Regions from separate parts of the Homo sapiens genome. Here all the other regions are linked to region 1. Evidence: promoter capture Hi-C in 16 types of primary human blood cells and fetal thymus (Javierre and others, 2016). All regions are on one chromosome and are shown on one strand. Each heading gives the region's core, a stretch centred on a gene start or on the middle of the fragment in contact. The rest is flanking DNA. Distances are from core to core; before and after follow the strand shown.

Region 1 (2,700 bases), core at 76-2,575:
ATATCGAGAATAACTTGAGGAGAAGCAAAACAATTATATCTTGCATATTACTACGTCATTCTTAAGAAAGTTTTCTTGAACAGACTCTCAGCTAACTTTTAGCAGCAGCAGCAGCATTATCAGTGGCTATGAGGGCTTGGATATCTCAGGAGGGGAAAAATGGGAAAGGCTGGCCTGATTATCATAAATAATAATCCTTGAGACATGATTCATAAATCCAGAAGTGGCTAATAATATTGACATTATTGTTATAGTGTCAATATTATTAGCCACTTCTGGATTTCTTCCATATCAGAGATAATATTTATGAAAAAAAAAATGCTACCATTATTTTTATCCTGTGGAAGGCAGTGTTGCTTTAAACAGTAGAGACTATATACAGGTACGCACGCATAGGTTGTATTTTCCATTTTATACATGCAAGGATTCTTTAAATAATTCATTACATTTTTTCTTTAACATGATATGCAGTTTTTCACAAAAAGCCCAAATAAACGGCTGTGAGGAATTCTAATAGGATCACCGTATAGCCATGACACTTTATGATTCATGATTTACAAGAAATTAAGAAATAGAGCTGGAGACATTTAGACCAGCCTACAAATTTGTGTGTGTGTGTGTGTGTGTGTGTGTGTGTGTGTGTTTTAATGTTTCCAGGCAAGAACCTTAAACAAAAAGTGTAGCATTAAAAAACTTCCCTTCGTCCTCGAGACCCCCCCAACTCTAGACACTGGATCCCCGGAGACCCACGCTGGGTCGTCGGAGTCTGGAGCCGGGGGCGGCAGGTGAGCGGCTAGGGTCCTGCAGGGGTCTGCGCGGTGCGGGGGAGGTCGCCGAGTCAGTCAGTGCCGAAAGGACCGCGAACTCCAGGGGCCAACAATCACCGGGTACGGAACTCAACGTTTCCGCCAGTTCCTGGATTACTCGAGTAAAAACAAACAAACAACAACAACAACAACAACAAAAATACTAACAGCAATGGGACCGTAATAAATCAACTCGGAGTGGGTACAGGCGGTTCCGGGACAACCCACACTTAGTCTAGGAGCCCGGAGATCCCTCATCCAGCTTTCCCCGGGGCAAGGGGTGAAGCGCTAAGCAAGGCTGATCACTGTCCTCAATCATCACCCAACCCGCGCACAGAAGCCGTGGCCCCACGCTCTCCTATCCCCGCCAGCTCCAGACTCGCCCCGCTGCCAACTCCCGGTGCAGGAGGAACTGGCAGCCGCAGACGTGAGGAAAGCGGCCGCGGCTTCAAACTCCGTAGTGCGCAGGCGCCACACAACGCGCAGGCGCCGCCTAGAAGTGACTTCTCCAAAAAGTGTGTTAGTTCCCGGTCACCTGAGCTCCGGGTGACGCGGCTGCGGTAGCTGCGGATACAAGCCTTCCGCGGGTCCTGCCTGGCGACCCCGACCTCCTCCTGCTGTCTCTCCGCTCCGCCACCCCGAACCCGCCAAGGTCCTGTCCTTTTCCTCCTGTCCTTTGCCAGCGTTGGGCCGGACCGGGCCGAGCCGGGCCGCCCGGGCGCAGTCTTTAACCATGGCGTCCCTCTTCAAGAAGAAAACCGTGGATGGTGAGTTCCAGGCCGGGCTGAAGGGGCCCAGCTCTGCGTTTTCTCGGCGTCTTTCGAGGCCTGCTGGCCGCGATTCTGCCTACTGTCCCTGGAGGCGGGGCTGGATCAAGTGGTCCCACAGGTGACCGCCCTCGCGGCACCACTTCTCTGCCTCCCTCTTGCTTCTGACTCACCTCACCTTAGGCTCACCTAGGCAGTCTGGTTGCTTCCCTATCCTCACGATTCCCCCACCCTCGGGTTTTCCTCAGCAGGATCCTGAGCGTTTCGAGGAGGCTAGCTGGCCCTTGAGTGTCAATAAACTTGGAAATCTGATGGATTTCTTGTTGGTTTCCTCTGCTTCGATTGTTGCTCTTCAGTTGGGCGATATACTACTTGTAGGCATCCATACAGGAAACTGGCAGTCTCGGAATGGGGAGGGAGGGGATAACAGGCTCCAGTTAGGAAATGAAGTTGGGTCTGGGTCAGTTGCTTCTTTAAGAACACCCCATCAGTAAAGAGATGTGAAACAAATGCTTTTTTGATTAACCCCAGTAGAAAAATAAACCCAAGGGAAGTGCCCAGATTTAGTTTTCATAATGGATTTTTCTCCCTTATGATTATTTTTTGCCAACTAAAGAAAGAGATGGGGTATATATTGTCTTCATAGAAGTTTAACATGTAAAGATAATTGTGTTGTTTCCCGCATTTAGCTTAATATCATCTTAAGCGGGGAAAAAAGTGAATGTAAAGGAATGTACAAGTTTTATGGTGCTCATATGCGATGCCTATAATGTGTTTATATAACACTTGATGTTTTCATTGATTGCTACCAGGAATTAAATTCATTCAAGTTATTTAAAAATTGTGTTCCCCATTATATGTTTAGTCTAGGTTGTTGCTGGTTCAACCAAAGAATCACTTCTTTGTAAGGGTCTAATTCTGCCACAAAAGGAGCAGTGGTAGCTAGACAGTGATTGGTACAAATAGGGTGCTCAGTCCAGACCTGGACGTAACTCCTTCATTCCTTTGTGTTGACTATTCCAATGCCAGCAAAATTATTTTGGGGAGGATAACAAAGAAGTCATCTCTGCTCTGCTGCTGTACACTTCATTTCAACACATAATCTACTTTACCTCTAATTTATCAGA
Region 2 (2,700 bases), core at 94-2,593, 950 kb after region 1:
AAAGCTTCCTTTTCTCTATGTCCCAAATTAAGACTGAAATTCATAAGCCCCCAAAAGCAATTTGTTGTCATTTTTCATAAGACTTACATAATATTAAAATATGCACCTATCTTCAGTAGCTATTATCCAAAAAGTATATAAATAAAGACAAAGTTAGAGGCAAAAGTTACTATCAAGCTGTAGTAATCCAGACAGTGTGGTAAAAATAAGGATCCACAGATGAATGGAATAGAATAAAGAACGTAGATATACACTTGCACTTACATAGACATTTGCTTTTTAACAAAGCCAATGAGGAAAGAAAAGTCCCTTGGAATACTAAATATCCATATTTTAACAAAACCCCTTGACTCACACCTCATACTATACAGAAAAATCAATTTTGGATCATAGACCTAAACATAAAAGCTAAAACCATAAAACCTTTAAAGGGAAATAGAATATTTTTATGACTTGGGGATAAGCAAAGGTACCATCAGGTACAGAAAGTAAAATCATTTAAGAAAAAATTGATAAATTATATTTCTTCAAAATTAAAAGTTTCTGCTAATTAAAATGAACATTAAGAAATAAGCTAAGACTGGAAGAAATATTCACAAAGAAATATTCACAAATAAAGCTAAGACTGGAAGAAATATTCACACCTGACAAAGGACGGGTATGCAGAATACATAGAGTACTCCTACAACTCAGCAATAGAAAGTCAAATAACCTAATTAAAACTGGGCAAAGTATTTGAATAGACAATTTATAAAAAAAGAAGTACAAATTGCCAATAAAATCATTAAAGAGTATACGATGTCAACTGTCACTATGGAAATACATATTAAAACCAGGAGACAAGACACTACCACCAGAATGACTATAATTTAGAAAGATAAACATTACCAAATGCTAGTGATGTTATAGAAAAACTGGACCTCTCATACATTTTTTGTAAGGATTGTATAATGCCACAACTAAATGCTAAATGCTAAAACTAAAGATATCCCTACACTATGGCCCAGCATTTTCACTAATAAGCATCTACTAAAGGGAAATAAAAGCATATATTCACAAAAAGACATATCCAAGAATATTCATAGCAGCTTTGTTCAGAAAAGCCTCAAAAAGGAAATAGCTCACATGTTCAGTTAGAGATTGGATAAACAAACTATGGCATATATAGTGAAATACTCCTCTATAATACAAATAAATGAATTATACATTGCATTCAACATGAAGGCTTAGTGAAAGAAGATTTAAACAAAAGGGTACATACTTTGTGACTCCACTTATAAGAAAGCCTAGAACAAACAAAACCAATCTGCAGTGGAAAAAAAAATAACATTGGTTGCCTCTGGAGAGTTGTTGGGGTAGGAATTTACTGTGAAGGTTATGAGAACTTTCTTACAGGAAGGTCACGTTCTATATCGTGATATGGGTTTGACTGTGTACAGATGTATGTATTTGTCAAAACTCAGTGAATATACACTTAAGAGTTGTACATTGTAGTATATGTACATTTCACATAAACACACACAAATATTGAACTCTAAAGTGCTTACATAAATAAAAGAGATTTAATGGATGGGGGATGGATTGATGGATGGATATGATAAAGCAAGTATACTAAACTGTTAATAGTAGGACCTTGTGGAAGATATACAGGTACTCATTTAAAATTCTTTCAATTTTGCTTTATGTTTGAAAATTTTTATAATGTTCAAAGAAAAATATCAAAAACAACAACAGAAATTAGTTTGTTCATGTTTCAGATAAAATGACATTTTACTGACAGAGACTGCCAGAATATTATTTTGGTTTGACATTACTAAGTAGTTTGTCTACTTATGCCAGAGTTGGAATGATTAATTAAAATACCCTTAACATACATAATAATGTGGTTTGAAACATTTATGAAACAATAATCTCAAAACTGAGGAATATGCTAATATTCACACTGAAAACTGAGGAATATGCTAATACTCACAACTTGACATGTAATTTGAATGTCTATATGTTTTAAAAATCTAGAATTTTGAGAAATTTGGATTTTTAATCCATATTAATCTGTATGAAGTTAACTCCCAACTATAACAAATTTAGCATATCAATAATTAACTTCTCAACATACATACAGTACAATAAATACTATAAATATATAACAGTCTTGAATAACTAAGCAATAGGTAACATTTTCAACACTAAGTAAACTTGAATAATAAAATGTTTTAGGGGCTGCATAGAGCTATGTATATGGATAAACAGATGCCTTTTATTCTAACACAAATTTGCTCTGAGGGATAGGCTTATTTTTATTGACAAGTTATCAATTTTCTCAGGATTTTAATAAAATCTTCATTTTTACAATATTTTTTCATTTTATTTACTTTTTATTTAAAACAAAATAGATTCCTAAGCAAATTAACACAAGATTTTTTTCCACTTTAGAGTACCTACTTTAAATTGTTTAATTTTAATTTTATTTAAATGTGTTCATTGGATCACATTTTACTAGAAACTAATTTGTTAAGGCCCAGATAACATGTGATAATACTGCAAAACTAATTTATTTTTCTTCATCCTCCCTTCTTACCCATTGATTTTTTTTTTCTTTTAAAATTAAGAAAGAATCAGAGTACTTTATCTGTCCTCTTCTTGTTCAAAACCCAAATGCTGCTGCGGATCATTTTGAAGGAAGGAAGCTTATAATAGCAC
Region 3 (2,700 bases), core at 27-2,526, 820 kb after region 1:
AAGAAGCAAGGAAAGGTGGTGGGAGTGAATCCTGAGAAGACTCATGGTTGTCTTGCATGGCAATTGCAACTGCTTTAGTGGAGGCCACTGCAATTTCCTCAGCTAATGCAGTGAATCTCCTCAGATGGGAATGGAGAGGCAGCTCTCAGTCAAGGTGGAGTGGCTTCTCCTACTGGGGTTCACGAGGGACCCCATTGACATTTAGGGGTTCAATGGCACTGAGGTTCATCAGGGCCTTCCCACACGGGCCCATGCCAACTTTCAGGATACCATTCCTTCCCAATCAATATCCTCACTTTAACAGTTCATACTTAACAAGGCTGGGAGTTCAACTTGCATTGTAATTCAGCAAGTCACAGAATGAGAATCTGGATTTGATTCTCAGCAATCTCAGCCCTGCAGCTACCAGAGCTAAGGGTCTTTTTCAGGGCACACATAGAAGCTTTTAGGTCATTTATGCAGCACTTGAGTTGGAAACTCAAATGCCTGAGCTCGTCGTTTTCTTTTCTTTTCTTTCTCCACTATGTTCAGTGACATTAGAAGCAACCAGCCCATCTCATTATACTCATTAGTTTGCCAAAAATATTTCAAAGTATCTTATACATAGTTAAACAGATTCTTGCTTCTTGTAAGTAGTTGAGTATCCAATGGTGATATTTTGTGTTTCTCCATTGTTACATCATGCCATGAACTATTAGTGCTCTTTTTACTACTGAAAATAAAATCATTAGTGTTTATAAATTTAATCAGCTTAGAGATCCAATTCCAGATATCCCAGAACTAATTCCTAAAACTCATCCTTAAAATTCTGTTCTTCTGGAATCACTCTTAGTGCCAAAATTTGTATTAGTTACCATCCTATATAAACAAATAGAACCAATAGGATGTATATATTCACAGAGAAAAAGATCTATTTATCTGGGTGAGAGAGAGATTTATTATAAAGAATTACCTCACACGATTATACAGAATGACAAGTCCCGAGAGGTGCAGTCAGCAAGCTGGAGACACAGAAGAGTTGGTGGTATCATTTCAGTGAGTCTGAAGGCCTGAAAACCAGGCAAACCAATCACGTGGCTTCATTCCAATTACTGATAGGCTCAAGACCCAGGAAGAGCCAATGTTTCAGCTTGATTTTGAAGGCAGAAAGAAACCAATGTCCCAGCACAAGGCAGTCAGGCGGTAGAAGACTGTCCCTTACTTTTGGAAGGGTCAGCCTTTTTATTCTATTCAAGTCTTCATCTGATTGGATGGGCCCCCCACACCCCACATTAGGGAGGGCAATCTGCTTTACTCAGTCTTCTGATTCAAGTGTTAATCTCATCCAAAACACGCTCATAGACATACTCCTAAATAATGTTTGACCAATATCCAGACACCCATGGCAAGCTGACACATAAAATTAACCATCAGAGATAGTAAAGAAGTTTGCTGCACTTAGGAGCTGGGCAGATAATTTCCTCCTTTCTTTCATTGACAGTAGTCTAAACATCACAAATTCCTCTTTGGAATAATGTTTTCTAGGCCTTTCTATGTTATAACACAAGCCATACTAGTGATAATAAGCAGTTCATTTTATTATAATGTTGTTTATAGGTTTTATATTCTACTCTTAAACCATTAAACAGTGCTACCTTGTGTTTAGCATATGTAAGAATTATAGTAAGAAACTGTATAATCATTTACCCTGATGATTATTTAGAGACAACATCTCCCCCTCTTCATTTTTGTTCACTTTCACTTGCCATTTTTCTGAATCTGCTCTGAATTCAGAAGTGGTTTTTTTCAGAAAGTGTTTTTCTTTGAAGCATTTTGAGCTTTGGATTTTCTCTGTTCTCTTGCTTCTCAATCAATTTAATACAATCTACTTTTCATCATTCATAAATCAACCTGTCCCTTGTCCGGAAATTCCTCAAGATATCTTATCTGCTCATAGTTTCCTTTCTTTCCTTTTAAGGCTACTATGAATTTCTTCTCAGTTATTAAGGTATTTGGTACACAGAAAAAGTTGTAATGAGGAGGTGTGTGGAAAATATGTTTCTAATAGGAAAGAGACAGACTAAACAAGCAGTCAGAAATAGAGGAAACAGAGATGATGCAGAAATAGAAGAAAGCTTTAACAAATTATAATAGTTGGCTGGGCACAGTGGCTCATGCCTGTAATCCCAGCACTTTGGGAGGCTGAAGTGGGCAGATCATGAGGTCAGGAGTTGTAGACCAGCCTGGCCAACATGGTGAAACCCCATCTCTACTAAAAATACAAAAGTTAGCCAGGTGTGGTGGTAGGCGCCTGTAATCCCAGCTACTTGGGAGGCTGAGGCAAGAGAATCACTTAAAACCCAAGGCGGAGTTTGCAGTGAGCCGAGATCATGCCACTGCACTCCAGCCTGGGTGGAAGGGTGAAACTCTGTCTCAAAAAAAAAAAATTATAATAGTCACAGAGAGATAACAGAATATATTGTAATCATAGACCTCAAATGGGATCCTATTAAAAGTAAATGTTCTGAAAAGAATAAAGGTGTCTTAGAAATTCAAAGCAGGATAAAGTTAGTGTAGGAGAGTATATTATCAAAGCAATAATACAATATAACATAATATATATTACATTTATTTTTCTGAAGGTCTCTCTTCTCCGGCCTCTTTTCTCTTTCTCCAATCTGAACTTATATTTCTTCAGGTCTAATACAGCAGTCATCCTGT
Region 4 (2,732 bases), core at 24-2,523, 770 kb after region 1:
CAAGCACTATCAGGTTGACCAAACATAGAAATGCCAACCCTTTAACACTGCCCAAATTTACAGCAAGCACCTGAGAACCACACCAATCACAGGAAACACACTATATGTTGACTCTAGCAACTGAACTGGACTCCCCTTGTTCTCCAAGAAGCCTGTTTGTCATGGTTGTCCCTCTGTCCACAAACTTGTGCTGTCATTACATATACTACAAAAAAAGGGACTAAAAGGTAAATTGCAAGTTCATAGATTTATTTATTATGTTTCTATTCACTTCAGTGTTTCAGAATATGAAACTGAACTCAACAATGACTCTTTGTGTTAAGCTTTGGGGTTTTTTCCTATTTTATCATCCTATCAATCTAAAGGTTTAAATACTATCTATTCTGCTTGCCATACTTACACAAAAATAACTTCAATTATAAATGCATGCATATATTAGGAATCGACTATCCTTTTCCCTGCTCTTATTAGTATATCATATGCAAAATATTTAGAGGCTCAGGTTGAAGAATAGATTTCTTATATTTGTATTTTCTATTGAGTATTGTCTGAACGAGACTTGTGTATGTATGCTATTAAACCTGAGCCAAAATTTAAATGCATTTTCTTTCTCAAAATCTTCCCATTAATGAAAAATAATATGTAGTAGTTTTTTTATTTAAAAAAAGACAAGAAAAAACAGTCAAGTTTATTTTAACAATTTTAATACCAATTGCCCAAACTATAGAAAATGTTCAAACATGAATTTTAGTAGTCTATGAAGTATAATCTACTCAGTTTGTTGCTGTTGTTGAGGGTGGAAAAAAATAAATGTATGGTGGAATTTAATGTTGCTTAGCCCAAAAATATAGTATAATATGAAATAAACCATGTTCTTCAAATAACGAGTGTTGGCTTTAACTTAATGATTTCAAAACATCCTATAGCATCCTATTAAGAAAACTACAAAGGAAGAATAATGGTGTGCAGTAGACATGAATTTTAAGTGTCCACGTGTTTGTCCAAAGTGTTTGTGGCAGCCTGAACTTTAAAAGGAGTCTCCTTCATTTGACCATGAAACCTACCATAACTTCACCTCTGGTCCTTCACCTCACTTCACTAAAATCAAAAGAGTTAGCATTCTCATTTTTAAAACTCAACATAGAACAAAGACAATTCCTTTTATTTTTCTGAAATTAAAATTCAGTAAATGTAGTTACTGAAATATCATTATTAATAATATTCTAGACAATTCCTTTTTTAATTTTTAAAAAATAAGTAGACATGGTTACTGAAATATTGTTATTAAATAATATTCTGAGTTCCAATCTTGCAAGAACAGTTTTGAATGTAATCACCTAGAATTATGTATTAAATTTTGAGAAATAGTTTCCTTCAACTTTTCCTTCCCAAAATAAATCTTGACAGAGACAAAACGAAAAAAATTGTTGGCATTTAAGAGAATGAGAAGAAAAGGTTATAATGAATGCTCTTTGAATAGGTATGTTTGCAGGTATTCAATAGAGAAAGTTATACCTTCATTAATTATTAAGGGAACTATGTTTAAAAAAACTATTTTAAAGCAAATCTTTGCACCTATTCCCAAATATTTGTGAACAGGTAATTGTACTTCCTCGAGAAAAGTGAGTTCTTTTTGCTTTTATGTTTCTTTGTATCCCCCTTTTCTCCTCTCTCCTCCTCCTCCTTTTTGATTACAGTATCACTCTAGTATATACAGCTGCGATTTAGAGGGTGGCGCTTTGGAAGGTTCTTGCGACTTGATTGCTGAGATGTTAAATGGACTATTTACCTCTGCAGGCACAAAACCCACAACCACATCTGCCCCGTAGCGCTAGCGTTGGCGGTAGTGTTCTTTCGAAGGAGGTTGTGGGCTTGGAGCTTAGAGCATGCGCAGTAACAGGAGCCTCACGGATTCCCTAACTACGCTGACCCCTACCCTTCACATCAGCGACTGGGTTCATGCAGAAGTAAACTGACTGTAGAATAACTGGACTGTTTATTGCCTATTACTCAGCTTGCTGGTAACCATTATGCCGTACAGTGGTTCTCTTTGTTGAATCTTCAGAGCAAATTGTATCTTGTACGTTGTCAGCTTAGCTCAGCTGAATTTAATTTTGTGATACTAGCACAAATGTAATACCACGTTTACCTGTTTAAAGATAGAGGTGTCCATATCACGTCTTGACACAGCTCCAGAAACATCCAACAGGTGTCAACTAAGATAGAAGCTTTCTAGTTGACCTATACCCCCCGCCAAAAAACCTCTCTTTTTCTTTTATTCAGGAATAGGATTTACAGTACAGGTTTTTCTAACTTTTGTCCAAGTATTCGGGGAAAAGAATAAGACAAATGATTTCTTAGGGACATGGCAGGAAACAGGATTTGGATAAATTTCTTACTCAGAAAAAATTCCACCAAACTTTTAAGAATATTTTCCTCTTTTTTTCTATTTTTTTTCTTTTTCTTGTGTAATGATTTGTAATTTGGCGAACCTCAAACTTTCACTTCAAGTTATCCTCGTTCACTGGAGTTCCCGGATCTAATGCTTGTTTTATTCCACAAGTTCTAAAAAGTTCTCAGTTAATGTCTTCAAATACAGCTTCTACCTCATGTTCTATCTCTATCTCTCTTCTTCTATAATCCCAACTGGATAAATATTAGACCGTCTTATTCTTTCCTTCATGTATCTTTTGTATTTTCTATTTCTTTATAACTCTGGGTTTCAATTACAG
Region 5 (2,700 bases), core at 62-2,561, 790 kb after region 1:
CAAAGGTCCACAGCTTCACTCCTGAGCCAGTGAGACCAGGAACCCCACCAGAAGGAAGAAACTCCGAACACATCTGAACATCAGAAAGGACAAACTCCAGTCACGCTGTCTTTAAGAACTGTAACACTCACCTCGAGGGTCCGTGGCTTCATTCTTGAAGTCAGTGAGACCAAGAACCCATCAATTTCGGACACAATAGGTCTCCTCTTCATCCCCTTCTTCTTTTCTCATTACTGTGTCTCAAGTTTAAGATTTCATTGTCTCTCCTTTGGTATCTCTACATCCAACTCCATCCAAGTGCAATCTGTCCTCTATAAAAATTTTTGAAGTCATCTTTTTACATCTCAAGGGTGGTCCAGGTTTTTCTCTTGTTTACATCCTTCAGTGGTTTGCCACTACCTATGTGGGATCAAGTCCATGCTCCTTAGCAGGATGGAGAAGACTGGTCCCCACCCTCGTCTCCAACTGTATTTTATACTCTGCCCCAAGCTCTTACATTTAACTTGCTTGTAAATTAAAGCCCGTGATCAATTTTATTCTTTTTTTTTTTTTTTTTTTTGAGATGGAGTCTGGCTCTTTCGCCCAGGTTGGAGTGCAGTGGCGCCCTCCCGGCTCACTGCAAGCTCCGCCTGCCGGGTTCACGCCATTCTCCTGCCTCAGCCTCCCAAGTATGTGGGACTACAGGTGCCGGCTACGGCGCCCGCTACTGCGCCCTGCTAATTTTTTGTATTTTTAGTAGAGACGAGGTTTTACCGTGTTAGCCAGGATGGTCTGGATCTCCTGACCTCGTGATCCGCCCACCTCGGCCTCCCAAAGTGCTGGGATTACCAGCGTGAGCCACCGTGCCCGGCCTTATTCATTCTTTTAAACTCAGCTCAGGTAATACCTCTTTCCTAAAACTTCTCTTAGTTTTTCTCCACTCCAGATGAGCATTCAACTTCTTCTCTTGCTGTATTATCCTGTATTATTTTGAACACCTATTTTCTCTATGGTTCTTGTTTTCATTTTCATCTTCTCCAAACCTCTTAGCTCCTTGACATCGAAAGCCATACATATTTTTTCCTGTTTCCTTAGCTTGTAGCCTAGCAAAGTTCTGGGACAAATATTGTAAAGCTTGATAAATGATTATAGAAGGATGAACAGATTTATAGATATCTGAGAAATGTTTTTATTTAATAGAGTATTATATTGAAACAATATTACGGGAACTACTGCAAACTGAAACCCAAGCTACTAGTATTTCCACACAAGTCTTTATAAAAAGGCCCACTAACACCTTAACACCTCCTCCCAATGTCTTTGTAATGAGCCTGAAAAAGACTGAGGTCATGGACTGACATCCTTGCTACCACTTTCCCCAGAATGTGCCTGTATGGTTGATATCACCTTTGAATTTTCACCATGCATTTGGGGGAAAAAGAGACTGAAGAGAGTTAATGACATAGCATATGGATAGAAAAAGCAGAGTGGTAACTAGCCAAAGTTAGAGATTTCATCCTCATATTTGAGTAAGCTTACCAAGGTCAGGAAAATTCCACCATGACTACAAATGATCACTGTGGAAAGACTAGAAGATCTAGACTCACCCAGCATATTCATAATTCTTAGATTGAAAGGACCTTTTCATTAACATCTGTATTTATTGTTTGAAAGTGCAGCCAATACCAAAAGTTAAGGAAGGAAGGAAGGAAAGAAAGAAAGAAAAGGAAGGAAGGAGGGAAGCAAAGAAAGAGAAAGAGAAAGGATTACGAAGAATACCAGGTGTGGTGGCTCACACCTGTAAACGCAGCATTTTGGGAGGCCAAAGTAGGTGGATCACCTGCGGTCAGGAGTTTGAGACCAGCCTGGCCAACATAGTGAAACCTTGTCTCTATTAAAAATACAAAAATTAGTCAGGTGAGGTGGCGCACACCTTTAGTCCTAGCTACTCAGGAGGCTGAGGCATGAGAATCGCTTGAACCTGGGAGGCAGATGTTGCAGTGAGCCGAGATGGCACCACTGCACTCCACTCCAGGCTGGGCGACAGGGTGATACTCTGTCTCAAAAAAAAAAATGGAATATGAAGAAAGAGTTAAATTTAGGCTGAAGTTATTATATAGCACCAAGAGATTTAATCATTAATAATAACTAATACTTTTTAAATTGTTTGAAAAGTACTCATTTTTTTCTCCTATTTTTAACTTTTAACAGGTATGCTTGTAAGCCATATATTATTTAACTTTTAAGTATTATGGAGTATTAAAATGCAAATTGAAAACAAAAATATCAGACCTTGCACTCAAAGAATTTCAAATGAATTTAAGATGACTGAGACACACACACACACACATAACAAGAAGATGGTATAATATAGAATATTTTTCTTGCAGGAAAAGCCTTGAAAATTTTTGGAGTACATATAGTAAGAATGCACTTCACTGCAGCAAAAGTAAGTGTGGCTTTGAACAAAAGTTTGCTTCAGTATAGCTGTTATGTGACACCTAGTAGCTCTGTGGTTTTTGTGGACACGTAAAATCTGCTGAACTCTGAAAAGCATTTCCACAGTAGTCTATTTTACATAAGTACACTGGTGCCAGACATTTAACGCTAACCACAGAGTGAAAAAGGCAGCATGCATATAAATATATAAATAAAAATTGATATGTAAATAATCATAATCACATCACTACAAACCACATGTTTTTCATAAAATATCTTAAT

Evidence for each region. Contacts are between HindIII fragments. The CHiCAGO score rates a contact against its expected background, and 5 or more counts as called.
Region 2: a contact is called between a fragment that was not itself captured here and the fragment with the promoter of CHMP2B in region 1, in 9 of 17 cell types (total CD4 T cells, naive CD4 T cells, activated CD4 T cells and 6 more). The highest score is 11.7, in total CD4 T cells.
Region 3: a contact is called between a fragment that was not itself captured here and the fragment with the promoter of CHMP2B in region 1, in 6 of 17 cell types (non-activated CD4 T cells, activated CD4 T cells, fetal thymus and 3 more). The highest score is 6.9, in non-activated CD4 T cells.
Region 4: a fragment that was not itself captured here is called in contact with the fragment with the promoter of CHMP2B in region 1 in 13 of 17 cell types (M0 macrophages, monocytes, total CD4 T cells and 10 more); the score reaches 9.7 in M0 macrophages.
Region 5: a fragment that was not itself captured here is called in contact with the fragment with the promoter of CHMP2B in region 1 in 8 of 17 cell types (naive B cells, total B cells, naive CD8 T cells and 5 more); the score reaches 9.6 in naive B cells.

What each region holds. Positions count from the first base shown.
Region 1 is chr3:87,225,984-87,228,683 of GRCh38, forward strand. It overlaps CHMP2B (charged multivesicular body protein 2B), which reads left to right and starts at 1,326. Exons shown (of 6, transcript NM_014043.4): 1 at 1,326-1,573. The coding sequence starts at 1,540. MIR4795 (microRNA 4795) reads right to left here and starts at 294; the gene lies at 206-294. RefSeq lists enhancers at 778-917, 1,028-1,087, 1,178-1,227, 1,278-1,347, 1,418-1,537. The HindIII fragment of the contact is 8,756 bases long and covers 1-2,700 here.
Region 2 is chr3:88,177,858-88,180,557 of GRCh38, forward strand. No RefSeq gene overlaps it. Among named protein-coding and RNA genes, the nearest start is that of C3orf38, 29 kb to the left of the region's middle. The HindIII fragment of the contact is 2,683 bases long and covers 3-2,685 here.
Region 3 is chr3:88,042,665-88,045,364 of GRCh38, forward strand. No RefSeq gene overlaps it. Among named protein-coding and RNA genes, the nearest start is that of CGGBP1, 15 kb to the right of the region's middle. The HindIII fragment of the contact is 1,672 bases long and covers 441-2,112 here.
Region 4 is chr3:87,999,191-88,001,922 of GRCh38, forward strand. No RefSeq gene overlaps it. Among named protein-coding and RNA genes, the nearest start is that of CGGBP1, 58 kb to the right of the region's middle. The HindIII fragment of the contact is 1,905 bases long and covers 322-2,226 here.
Region 5 is chr3:88,016,693-88,019,392 of GRCh38, forward strand. No RefSeq gene overlaps it. Among named protein-coding and RNA genes, the nearest start is that of CGGBP1, 41 kb to the right of the region's middle. RefSeq lists a silencer at 2,423-2,472. The HindIII fragment of the contact is 400 bases long and covers 1,112-1,511 here.